Regions from separate parts of the Homo sapiens genome. Here region 1 is linked to region 2. The links are contacts of gene promoters, found by promoter capture Hi-C in blood cells and fetal thymus (Javierre and others, 2016). All regions are on one chromosome and are shown on one strand. Each heading gives the region's core, a stretch centred on a gene start or on the middle of the fragment in contact. The rest is flanking DNA. Distances are from core to core; before and after follow the strand shown. Region 1 holds the start of FAM178B (family with sequence similarity 178 member B). Region 2 holds the start of ANKRD39 (ankyrin repeat domain 39).

What was found. Contacts are between HindIII fragments. The CHiCAGO score rates a contact against its expected background, and 5 or more counts as called.
Region 1: a contact is called between the fragment with the promoter of FAM178B here and the fragment with the promoter of ANKRD39 in region 2, in 5 of 17 cell types (non-activated CD4 T cells, naive CD8 T cells, erythroblasts and 2 more). The highest score is 10.4, in non-activated CD4 T cells.

The regions. Positions count from the first base shown.
Region 1 is chr2:96,982,032-96,988,241 of GRCh38, forward strand. FAM178B (family with sequence similarity 178 member B) reads right to left here and starts at 4,549. Exons shown (of 17, transcript NM_001122646.3): 1 at 4,210-4,549. The coding sequence starts at 4,282. RefSeq lists enhancers at 3,586-4,106, 4,107-4,627. The HindIII fragment of the contact is 31,542 bases long and covers 1-6,210 here.
Region 2 is chr2:96,856,712-96,863,203 of GRCh38, forward strand. ANKRD39 (ankyrin repeat domain 39) reads right to left here and starts at 1,305. Exons shown (of 4, transcript NM_016466.6): 1 at 1,177-1,305. The coding sequence starts at 1,276. It overlaps SEMA4C (semaphorin 4C), which reads right to left. Exons shown (of 15, transcript NM_017789.5): 13 at 5,026-5,183; 14 at 4,868-4,938; 15 at 3,007-4,744. The coding sequence ends at 3,915. RefSeq lists silencers at 966-1,135, 1,166-1,835. The HindIII fragment of the contact is 20,079 bases long and covers 1-6,492 here.

The DNA of each region.
Region 1 (6,210 bases), core at 3,299-5,798, 130 kb after region 2:
ACTCCAGCCTGGGTGACAAAGTAAGACCCTGTCTCAAAAAAAAAGAAAAAATCTTCGTTTATTCCAAAGTCATGAACATATTTTCATATGCCAGCTTTGAGAATTTTTATTATTTTGTATTTCACACTTGGATCCATAACCCACACAAGAAACATTCTTCACTTTTTAATTGATGTATAACTTACAGTACATAAATATATATATTCATATAGTATATGTACATACTTTATATATATTATTATTTTATTTTAGAGACAGGGTCTGGCTGTGTCACCCAGGCTGGAGTATAACGGTGCAATCTTGGCTCTGCAACTTCTGCCTCCCAGCGTCAAGTCATCCTCCCACCTCAGCTTCCCGAGTAGCTGGGACGACAGGCGTGCACCACCATGCCTGGTTAATTTTTGTATTTTTTGTAGAGATGGAGTTTCACCATATTACCCAGGCTGGTCTCGAACTCCTGAGCTCAAGCAATCCACCCGCCTCAGTCTCCCACAGTGCTGGGATTACAGGCATGAGCCACCGCACCTGGCCTAATTTATTTATTTATTTTTGTTAGAGACAGAGTCTGTCTCTGTCATGTAGACTGGAGTGCAATGTCATGATCACAGCTCTCTGCAACCTTGAACTCCTGGGCCCAAGCAACCCTCCTGCCTCAACCTCCTGAGTAGCTAGGAGTGCAGGTTCACACCACCATGCCCAGCTAATTTTTTTTTTTTTTTTTTTTTTTTGTAGAGACAGGGTTCTTGCTATGTTGCCCAGGATGGTCTTGAACTCCTGGGCTCAAGCAATCCTCCTGCCTTGGCTTCCCAAAGTGCTGGGATTACAGGCGTGAGCCACTGCACCCAGTCTAATTTATTTTATTTTAGAGATATAGTCTCTCTCTGTCACATAGACTGGAGTGTACTGTCATCATCATAGCTTCCTGCCACCTTCAGCTCTTGAGCCGAAGCAATCCGCCTGCCTCAGCCTCCCGAGTAGCTAGGACTGCAGGCACACACCACCATGCCTGGCTAATTTTAAAATATTTTTGTAGAGACAGGGTTCTTGCTACCTTGACCAGGTCAGCCTTGAACTCCTGGGATCAAACAATCCTCCTGCCTCAGCCTCCCAAAGTGCTGGGATTCCATGAGCCACCATGCCTGGCTCTAAATGCACAAATCTTAAGTGTTCAGCATGATTGATTTTTATGTACATATGTGTACATTTAGTATAAATGTGTGTCTGTGTGTGCATATATATACACATATACATACATATGGTAACCATTACCAGATCAACATATTGAATATTTCTTACATTCTAGAAGTACCTCCTCCAGTCAATAACCCCAAAGGTTATACTACTCTGCCTCTATCACCACCGATTATTTTGCCTGTTCTTGAACTTCACATACATAAAATCATATATATATATTTTTGAGACATAGTCTCGCTCTGCTGCCCAGACTCGGATGGTGTGATAACAGCTCACTGCAGCCTCAACCTCCTGGGATCAAACAATCCTCCTGCTTCAGCCTTCTGAGTAGCTAGGACTACAGGTATGTGCCACCATGCCCAGCTAATTTTTATATTTTTCTGTAGAAACAGTTTCATTGTGTTGCCCAGGCTGGTCTCAAACTCCTAGGCTCAGGTGATCTGGTCACCTCAGCTAACAAAGCGCTGGGATTACAGGCGTGAGCCACTGCATCCAGCCAAATCATCAATTTTGTGCACTTCTGCATATATTTTATTCAACATTATGCATGTGAAAATCATCCACGAACTACTGCTAAATGTATGTTGTTGCATGCTATATGCCTGTAGCAGTAGTTCATGCAGCAGTTCAGTAATCTTTATTACTATACAATATTTCATCATATGAATAACTACTACTTATTTATCCATTCCGCTGTTGATGAGCATTTGAGTTATTTCTTGTTTCAAGGTATTATGAATAAATCTGCTATGAATTTTTTTTTCCAAGACAGTTTCGCTTATTGCCCAGGCTGGAGTGTAATGGCACAATCTCGGTTCACTGCAACCTCCGCCTCCCGGGTTCAAGCGATTCTCCTGCCTCAGCCTCCTGAGAAGCTGAGATTACAGGTAGGTGCCACCACACCCAGCTAATTTTTAGTAGTGATGGGGTTTCACCATGTTGGCCAGGCTGGTCTCGATCTCCTGACCTTGTGATCTGCCGCTTCAGCCTCCCAAAGTGCTGGGATTACGGGTGTGAGCCACTGTGCCCTGCCAAAGTGGTACATAAAAACTTTCACTCCGCCACCAGGAAGACAATTTGCCCAACCTGTTCAATACAGTTCCCGCTCAACAAACCCCAATTTAGCATCTTCTATGTGTCAGGCAGTATGCTGAGCATTGGGACCTCAAGGATGAGGAAGATGCAGTCTCTGCCCTAGAGGAGCTTACAGCAGCAGGAAGTTTCTGTCATAGGACAGACCCAGGGCTCACCAAGACTCAAGCAGATGATGAAGCCTGGGGCTCACTGGCCCAATCAGCGTATTCAGACTGGCTGGCTGCTTATGAGGCTCTTGGGCCAGGGCTGCCTGCTCAGTGGGCAGCTGACTCTAGCTGCTGCAAAATGCCTTTCACTCAAAGGTGCTATCTACCAGTGATTATATGGCATTCCAATTTTACCTGGAAGGGAGATGCAGCTACCAGCTGTTTCTTCCCTCTCCCAACCACAAAGTAACACATTTTTCATTTGTCTATCTGTTGTTTCCAGGTTTTTGCTTTTGCCAATCCCCTCCCTCACATGCCTTGAAACAAGCACTTTCAAAGACAAAGACATAAACAACAAAAGGGTGCAGGCTGAGGTGGGTCATCTTCTCTGCCTGCGTCTCCAACTCTGGATCCTGCAGTTACTGGACTCAGGCCATGGCTGACTCCTTCATCACAGCTAAGATGCTGCTGGGTTTAAGGCACTGTGACTTTCTGTGCCACTAAGACCGACAAAAAGCTGCCAAGTGAACGATGACACAAAGAAAGACACAAACTGTGGGACCCAGCCCAACTTCAGAGCTGCTAAAATGTGAACAAAAATGCATCCCGGAATGGATGGAAACCGATCATTCTAGTTGGTGTGACCTGCTCCAGTGCCTACAGTACGTGTCCTGACAGCGTGGGAGGGGATATGAAGGCCCCCCAGTCAAACAGGAGACAGCGTTAGTCTCCAAACTTAACTTTGTTATCTCTTTCCCTCCTGGGGCCCAATACCCGCCAGCCAGGACCTGTTTCTCCTCCATCTCACATTCTTTCCAGGTTCAGGACTGAAGTCGTCTTGTTCAGCTCCTTGACTTGGCCATGCTCACTCTACAATGCAGCCCATGGATGGCGCCCCCTCTGCCCAGCACATCCCTCTGCCTGGGCTCTTGTCTCCCCGAATCCTGCAAACCCCAGCCCCAGCCTTTAGCGTTCAGCCGCCCTCCCCGCTTCCCTCATCCTCCCTCGCGTCCTCGCAGTGAGATTTCAACATGTCATCTCAGTTTTTTTGTTCTTTTACTTTCCTGACTACAAGAAAAATAAAATAATCTGTCTTAAAGTGTAGCATGAGGCCAAATAATTACGGAATCCCAAGTGCTTTGGGCCCTGATGTCAAAAGAGCCAAGATGAATTCAGAATATTACAATGGTGCTGTTTCTGCGAATACTGCTTTTTCAAGACGCCTTATTCCTAACATCATGTTTTATATCCATCCTTTTAAACAAATATTTAATAGCTTGGGAATGCTGGCGAGAGCAGCGGCTCCTGTCAGCAAGGACTGAGCTCACAATTTGAAAGATGAAAGGAGATGCGTTCTACCCACAAAGAAAACGGTCTCCAGCATCATAAACTCCACATCCATCAAACCGGGCAGGGGCTGGGAATAGAAAGCCTTTCTGGAAAGAAAACACCAGCTACCCTTTGCACCCTGGGGAACATTAAAAATCAAAACAAAACATGCCACATCAACCAAAACATAAACCAGTTCTCAAACCAATCTAAGGTTCCACCCCACCAAGGCCGGCCGCGCAGTGGCCTGTGGAGAGGAGGGCCCGGCTCACGTCGGAACCCGAACCACGCGGGGTCGCAGGAACCTGAAAAGCGCCAGAGTAGCCCGGCGGCCGCACCGGGGCTGACCTGCAAGGCCTGGACCAGCCAGGAGTCCCAGGGAAGTCGAGTGCTCTCTGAGCGCTAACCACGCGCCCCTGCGGTTCCTCGGCCTCAGTTTCCTTACCTGTAAAATGGAGCCGCTGATCCTGCCTCCTGAGTTGTGGAGCGAGGCCCGCACCTGGAAGCCTTGGCCACATAGGGCGGGAAGGGCAGGGCTCCGGGGTGAGGGAGGGTGGCGGGAATTCGCACGGCCTCAGAGGACGGGGCCAGCTAGCCGGGAAAGGAAGCAGGAGCAGGCTCCCCAGGCGGCGCAGTGGGAGGACCCCAAGAGTTGCGTCCCTAGATCCAGGGCCGCCAACGTGGAACCTAAAGATCCAGTTCTGGGGATTGAGTTCCGACTCCAAACCAAGCGGCCAGCTCACAGCCGCCGCCGCCGCCAGCTGGGGAGCTCGCCGGCCAAGTGCGCACCCTCTTCCTGTTAGCCCTCCACGTGCGCGCCCTCTTCCTGCTCGCCCTCCACGTGCGCATCCACGTGCGCGGGAATTGGCTGGCGGAAGCTCCTGCCCCCAGGCAGTCCTGGGTCACGCGCACTTGTAGTAGCTTGCATTTACCAAGACAGTGAGACAGTGGCCTGGCGCGGTGTCTCATGCCTATAATCCCAGCACTTTGGGAGGCTGAGACGGGACGATTGCTTGAGCCCAGGAGTGAGAGACCTGCCTGGGCGACATGGCGAAACCCCGTCTCTACTAAAAATACAAAAATTAGCCTGGCGTGGGCAGGGCGCGGTGGCTCACGCCTGTAATCCCAGCACTTTGGGAGGCCGAGGCGGGCGAATTGCCTGAGGTCAGGAGTTCCAGACCAGTCTGGCCAACATGGTGAAGCCCTGTCTCTACTAAAAATTAAAAAACATTAACCGGGCTTGGTGGCTGGCGTGCGCCTGTAATCCCAGTTGCGCGGGAGGCTGAGGCAGGGGAATTGCTTGAACCAGGGAGGTGGAGGTTGCAATGAGCCGAGATCGCGCCACCGCACTCCAGCCTGGGCAGCAGAGCAAGACGCCGTCTCAAAAAAAAAAAAAAAAAAAAAAAAAAAAAAAAAAAAAAAAAAAAAAAAAAGCCGGGCATAGTGGTGCAGTGCCTGTAGCCCCAACTACTTCAGAGGCTGAGGTGAGAGGATCACTTGAGCCTGGGAGGCGTAGGCAGAGGTTGCAGTGAGCCGAGATCGTGGCACTGTACTCCAGCCTGGCGAAAGAGCAAGCCCCCATCTCTAACACACACACACACACACACACACGTGTGAGATAGCTGTGTCTGTTTGGCAGTGATGAGCTTCCCTTTATGGGAGATTTACATAATTATTCATAAAGGAGCGGGAATGGGCATTACTGTTAAGCATGTTACGGGGTCTCCCAGATGTGCATGTGCGTGCTAGTACACCACATCACATGTCTCATTAGCATTTTAATTCCTCACCCAGGGGTGTGTTTTTTAGCATTAAAATGAGCATAGGTCATTCCAAGGACACTCTAATCATGGGTTTCTGCACTTGTGTGAATTTGGGGATTTTCCCTTCTGCTGTTCATCCTCTTCGCTGCAGGATGTTCTAACTAGGAGCCTGATGCAGTTTATGCACCAGTGGGCGGTTTGTTCTCTACATCAATCTGGCAAGTTCATTCCCCTTTAAAGGAGGCTATGACCACTGTATCTAACCGACCTCATTTTCCCCCTCAGAGACTTTGGGTCCATGTTCTTATGAAATGTGGAGGGCTGGGTCATTTTTTCTGGAGCTGCTTCGTGCTGAGACAGGACCAGGGCCCGAAAGTCTCTTCTTGCCTGATTTAAAGTGATAGGGGTCATATCCTCCACTGGGATAAGTTGAAATCCTTGCATAACTATCAATCTAGGAATTGTTGTAACCTAGAAGACACAGACTTTAAAGGAGCTTAAACAAGCAAGGACCAAAGGTCAGTAGTAATAAGATGGCTATTGTAGGTCCCATGAAAGGTAGCAGAATGAAGCATCACATCATTATTCAGCAAGCAGAAGAACAAAAAGAGCTCCTACAAATAGGAGACCTGAGATGGGACTACCTTATGTTAAAGTAATATTAATCTCTTTATTTGGGGTGT
Region 2 (6,492 bases), core at 55-2,554:
GGGCAGAACTGCCCCCAGTTGAGAACTGGGGTGTTTAGGGAGGGTCTCTGAGGAGATGACATTGGAGCTGGGATCTGAAGAAAAGCATCAGCTAGCTTAACGGTTGTAGGAAGTTCATTCTAAGGAGATGGGACAGCAAGTCCAACGGCCTTAACTCAGGAAAAGGTCTTGCATATTTGAGACACCAAAACAAGACCAGTGTGGCTGCGGCGTAGTGATTGGGGGAAGAAAAGCATGAGAAATAAAATGAGGAGGAGAAGTAGAACCGGCAGGGGTGGGTCTACAGAGCTTTGTAGGCCATAACAGGGAATGATGTGATTTCTAATTTTCAAAAAGCCGCTCTGGCTGCTATGTGAGAGTAGAAAACCCTGTAGGAAGGCAAGCGTGGAAGCAGAAAGACCCTCTGAGGCAACCACTTCAGCAGTGCAGAGGACAGCGGTAGGAGGGGCGGAGGGAAGTAGGCAGGTGCCAGAACCACGGTAAAGGAAGAGTTCCATGAGAATGCTTACACAGCAGTGGCAATCGAGGGCTGCATCCGCAAGGGCAGATGACACAGCACAGTGGTTCCCAACGCTCACAAGAAGCACCCTGGTTTCCCGCCTTCCTCTGTTCCTATTGGCACCATAATCTCTGTATAATCTGGGCCAAACGTGTTACCTCTCTGGGTCCCACAGATGAGATACTGTGCCCTGCCTCGAAGGCTGCCCGTGCGAAGCTCTTGCCATCTTTAAAGCATGCAGGCTGCCTGGCACCCGGGGCTAAACAAAGGCCACTGCTCTCCTTCACCGCGCAGCCCCCAGGCCTGCAGCTCCATGCCCCTCAGGTTGGGTGCAATGCCCCTGGTGCAGATTCTGCTCCCCGGGCCCTCTCTCAAACACCTGAGCAGGCTTGTGTCTCCCAGGGGAGGTCGTCCCCCGCTACTCGGGAGGGTTACGGAAACCAGTGCTTCCGCTTCCCCGCCGCCCGCGGGACAGGTGTCTCCTGGCCGAGCTCGTGCGGGGCCCTGGGAGGCTCTCAGTACACGGGAACCGTGGGTCCCGCCCGCCTTCCCGCACCAGGCCCCAAGCCCCAAGCCCCAAGCTCTCGGGGCCCCGTTCATCCGCCTCTCCTTGGCCCCACGCCTCCTCCTTGGGCCGGGGCCTGGTGAGAACCACGAGGGCCGCGCGGCAGCCTCACCCCTCTCGAAGTCCATCTCCTCCAGCGTCTGCTGTACGCCGAGCACCGCGCTGGGATGCGAGCAGCAGGGCCCGTCCGCGCAGGGCCGAGGCGTCGCCATCCCGGCCCCGGCGTCAGTCGATCCGCCCCGGGTCTCAGGCTCAGCCTCGGCGGGAGGGGCGGACGCAGGGCCCGCCCCGCGTCCCTGATCTGGCCGCTCGGCGTCCGCGGCTGTCGCCCTAGTCCCGCCTTCTCGCCAAAGCTGACCAATCAAACGCCTAGGCCTTAGCTCGAGAACCAATTGCAACGGTAGGGCGGGGCTTGTTGCGCCCGGCCGTGCCCCGAGGCCTCCGCGCGAGGGCGTCCAAGGCCAAGCGAGGACTGAGGCGCTGGGTTCCGGGAGCCGCGCGCCGCTGGAGGGCCGCCGGGCCGCCTGGCCTTGCAGGGTGTGGGGATGAGGCAGCTGGGTCCGGTCGGGAGCTTTCCCGTTACCTTCGCCATGACCCAGCCGTCCAGCGACCTCGCAGCCTCCTCTCTTTACCGCCCCTAGTCCCTAGGGCAGGGAGGCGCCACGCGCTCCGCGGTCTTTTTTTTTTTTTTTTTTTTTTTTGAGACGGAGTCTCGCTGTCACCCAGACTTGTGTGCAGTGGCGCGATCTCGGCTCACTGCAACCTCCGCCTCCCGGGTTCAAGCGATTCTCCTGCGTCAGACTCCTGAGTAGCTGGGACTACAGGCGCCCGCCACCACGCCCGGCTAATTTTTTGTATTTTTTAGTAGAGACGGGGTTTCGCCAGGATGGTCTCGATCTCTTGACCTCGTGATCCGCTCACCTTGGCCTCCCAAAGTGCTGGGATTACAGGCGTGAGCCATCGGGCCGGGGCGCGCTCCACGGTTTTTAGCCCCTCTTCCTGGCACCACCCCGGACCAAGGCCGACCGCCCCCGGGGCAGCGGCAAAGTGACGGCTGGAAAGGCCTCGAGACGCCCCTCCCCGTACCCTGCTCTTCCTTACAAGTCCAGCAAGGGGCAGGTGGCCACAACTTGTCCTGCCTGTAGCTCCACCTCAGGGCAGGGGCAGGGCCTTGGTTTGTGCAGAACCCCCTGGCCCCACAGTGGGCGCTGAGTTTACGGAATCGGTCTTCATGATCAAAACCCACCGGGAGGCCGTCTGCGGACCGCGCACCTTCGCAGCGTGCTCCTCAGCGGACCCCAGCCTTCTCAATTCCCAGTTAAAACCCAGGCAGCTGCCTGCTCAAGCCACGATCAAGTGTACAGGGGAGACCGCCTGATCGGCTTAGAAAGAGTGCATGAACGACAGAATGCAGGTTGGGTTCTGTGCCAGTCCCTCTCCAGGACAGTGGTCTGGTGCACACTGGATGTAAGTTCCTTCCCCCGCTAGTTGGGGCACGGAAGACCCTAGCATTCCTGGTGGGTAGAAGGCTGGAAGTCGTTTCTCCTCCCCTAAGCAGGTTGAGAACCCCATCCTCACACAAGCAATGATCTCATCTCCACAACCTTCCACTCCTTTGGCCCCTCATTCCCACTACCCGTCTTGAGTTCTGGGAAGGCACCCCCCCCACCACTCCGCTTCTCCCCTGGACTCCCAGTGCCCTGACTTCTCCTTCTGGCCAGAAGCCAAGGCTGGCTCCCAAGGGGCTATGGCCATGGTCTCGTTCCCAGCCCCGCAGCCACCACTGTGGGAAAACACTAGAGCTGGGCTGTCCCCTCCCACAGGCAGGCAGGGACCACAAAAGTGGTGGCTGCCCTGGGATTGTGGGGGAGGCCCAGTCCAGCCTCCCTCCACCCAGAGAGCCTTCCCTCTTGGTACCCAGAAAGGCTTTAGCCCAAACATCTTAGCCCCATCAGAGCAATCGTTTCATTTTCTCCATTTTATTTGTCAATATAAAAATACTCAAATATTTACAACAAATAAATACGCGGGGACACAATAAGTTACACTGTTAGGAGCCCTCCTCCTAGGGCTGGAAGAGAGTATGCCATTGTCCACAGCAGGCCCACCCTCTCCCTTCTCTCCCCTCACACAGCCTTTCCCAGCCCTGTACAGGAAGAAGGCAAGTATAAAATACCACTGAACCCCGGGGCCAAGTGGGAGGCCCCACCCACCCTTCCCCCCAAACACACAGGAGGCTCCATCTCCCTCCCCCCACCCTGAAAACATTCACAGCCCTAGGAGCAGGACTAGGCCCACCCCAAGCCCTGCACTCCCTCTGAAGGGGCACAGCACCCTGTCCACCCCACCTCCATATGTACATCGCTGCCCGACACTCGGGGCAGTGGGGGTAGGAGAGACAAAGTGATACGACCCCTTCCCCTTCATAGCTCCAATGACTCACCAGGAGGACCCAGGCCAAGGGAAGACTTGACAGAAACAGGAAGGCTATGCCACAAGCGCGCACGCGCGTGCACACACACATACACACACACACAAACACATGTGCAAATACAGACAAACACACATCTTGAAACTTCTGCCTTGAAAAGTTTTGGCGGCTGGGGTCCCGCGTGTCTGTGATTCACAGAGAGGAGGAAGATGCCTTCTGCGAGGCTGGTGCCCTGGTGAGCCACACCAAGTGGCAGTGCCCGTGCTGAGCAGAGCAGGTCCTCATGGCCGGGTGGGTGCTGGGCAGTATCTGTCCCAGACAGAGCAGGTGCCCGTGCCATGTCCCTGAGGTAGCTGGTGCCTGTGCAAAAGTAGGAGCTACACCTCCCACGCTTCCCGCCGACGCGGTGGGGGTTCCCCTCATACTGATGACTCCTCGGGGTTGGAGTCGGGCAGTGGCTGGCGTTGCTGCAGTTTGCGTCTCAGTTCATCCGCGAGCTCAGGCAGGGGGTGCCCGAGCCCTCCCCGGTCCTCCCCTCCTAGTTGTAAGCGCACGTAACCATTGGCATTTGAGTTCCGCCCACCCCCCAGGTGAAGCCGAGTTGGAGAAGGCAGAGGCTGGCCTGGGATGCCTGGAGGTGGCGAAGGGGGCCCCCCACCGGGCTGGCACCGGGCATGCCCAGGTACTATCTTAAGGGAGCCATCTGAATAGTAGTAACCGACAGGATCCCAAAGTTTCTCATCTGGTTCAGGACAGGGCCGGAAGGGGGGACTGGTGGGCTCCTTGGGCAGCTCCAGGGGGTACACCAAGGTCCTCTCAGTAGCCTTGGCCCCTTTCTCCAGCTCTTCCCGCAGCCGCCGGCGCAATGACAGCACCAGCAGCAGCAGCACCAGGCACACAGCCCCCAGGGCCACCACCGCCAGCCACACCAGCCCCAGGTTTTCCAGGGGGGCCCGGGCCTCCAAGGTCACCGACGGGCCTGCCACGACAGCCACAAGGTAGCCTTCAGCAGCCAGCCGCGCCCCCTGCTCCTCTGAAAAGCAGTGGTAGGCCCCGGCATGGCGGGGCTGGGCAGCCATCACAACCAGGGCCTGGAGCCGGGCATCGTAGAGGAAGGACCCGGGCTGTTCCGCAGGCAGGTCCCGGCCCCCAAAGGTCCAGCGGGCATGGGCCAAGTTGGAGGAGAGGTGGCAGGGCAGCACCAGGTCTGTGCCCGCCACCACCGTGATGTTTTTGGGAGTGGGCCTGACTGTAGTGGCAGAGAAAACAGAGTGCATGTTAGTGCAGGAAAGCAGGGCTGGGGAAGAGGAGAACAGAAACTCCAGCTCTGGTCCAGGGCTCAGCCCGATGCGACGGGAATGAAAAAGCTCACCTTTCTTACTGCCACGGAGGTTGCAGATGCCTGAAGTGTCCGAGGTCATCACATGCTGGATCAGTAGAGATCTGGTAGGGGATGTAGGGTACATCAGCAGCCTGGCTCCAACCACCCTGAGTCCCTGGAGGTCCTGGCCTATGTAGAGCCCAACTCACCCAGAGTGGCCACCCACGGCCACACAGCGGCTGGTGTTGACGCTCCAGGCGCAATAGGGGTCCCGGGCGAGGACACAGTCTGCACAGGAGCGATACTTCATGCAGTCGGCCACGGGCAGCTGCACCAGCTGAGAGCGGGAGCCGGCAAAGAGCAGCTTCTGCGAGAAAAGCGGGGCGCAGGAGGGGGGTCGGCCAGGGCCACACCACGGGAGGGGCGGCCGGACCAGAACGCAGCATGGGGACAGCTTGGACTCCTGCAGGGGGCACAGCACGGGGCGCCAGAAGGAGGAACAAGGGAACAAGGCAGAGCTATAGTGCTGAAAAGGGAACTCTAAGAACCGCAGAACTCAGAGGGCTTACACAGGCCAGATGCAATCCTAAGCCCCTTATCGACGTGACGTTATTAGAAAGGGATGATGGGGCTGTGAGGCCAAAAAGTATAATCACACACACTCACACACACATAGTGCAGGAAATACATTTCAAGGCCCATCAGCCCTCACAACAGCAGCAGCATAACATAAGATGTTTTCCTGTTTCAACGGTGGATGCCAATCTGTGTGTTTATTCAACCACACACTTTCTTTCTGCCATTATTCCATGTTCTAGGGGACAATTTTGAGTCATAATAGCTGGTAAAAGGCAAACAAATCAAAGTTCAGGAGGTGTAGCAAACATGCCACAAGAGTATTGCACAAGGCAACTAGGAACAGCAGGTCATGCCTGGAATCCCAGCACTTTGGGAGGCTGAGGTGGGCAAATCACTTGAGGTTAGGAGTTCAAGACCAGCCTGGCCAACATGGTAAAACCTTGTCTCTACTAAAAATACAAAAATTAGCCGGCTGGCCAGGCGCAGTGGCTCACGCCTGTAATCCCAGCACTTTGGGAGGCTGAGTCGGGCGGATCGCAAGGTCAGGAGATCGAGACCATCCTGGCTAACACGGTGAAACCCCGTCTCTACTAAAAATACAAAAAATTAGCCAGGCGTGGTGATGGGAGCCTGTAGTCCCAGCTACATGGAAGGCTGAGGCAGGAGAATGGTGTGAACCTGGGAGGCAGAGCTTGCAGTGAGCCGAGATTGCGCCACTGCACTCCAGCCTGGGTGACAGAGCGAGACTCCATCTCAAAAAAAAAAAAAAAAAAAAAAATTAGCTGGGCATGGTGGCACGTGCCTGTAGTCCCAGTTACTTGGGAGGCCGAGGCAGAATTGCTTGAACCCGGGAGGTGGAGGTTGCAGTGAGCAGAGATCATGCCACCGCACTCCAGCCTGGGCGACAGAGTGAGACTCCATCTCAAAGAAAACAAAAACAAAAACAAAAAACCTTTAGCTGGGCATAGTGGCAGGCACCTGTAATCCCAGCTACTCAGGAGGCTGAGGCATAAGAATAGCTTCAACCTGGGAGGTGGAGGTTGCAGTGAGCTGAGATCGCGTCACTGCACTCTAGCCTGGGTGACAGAGTGAGACTC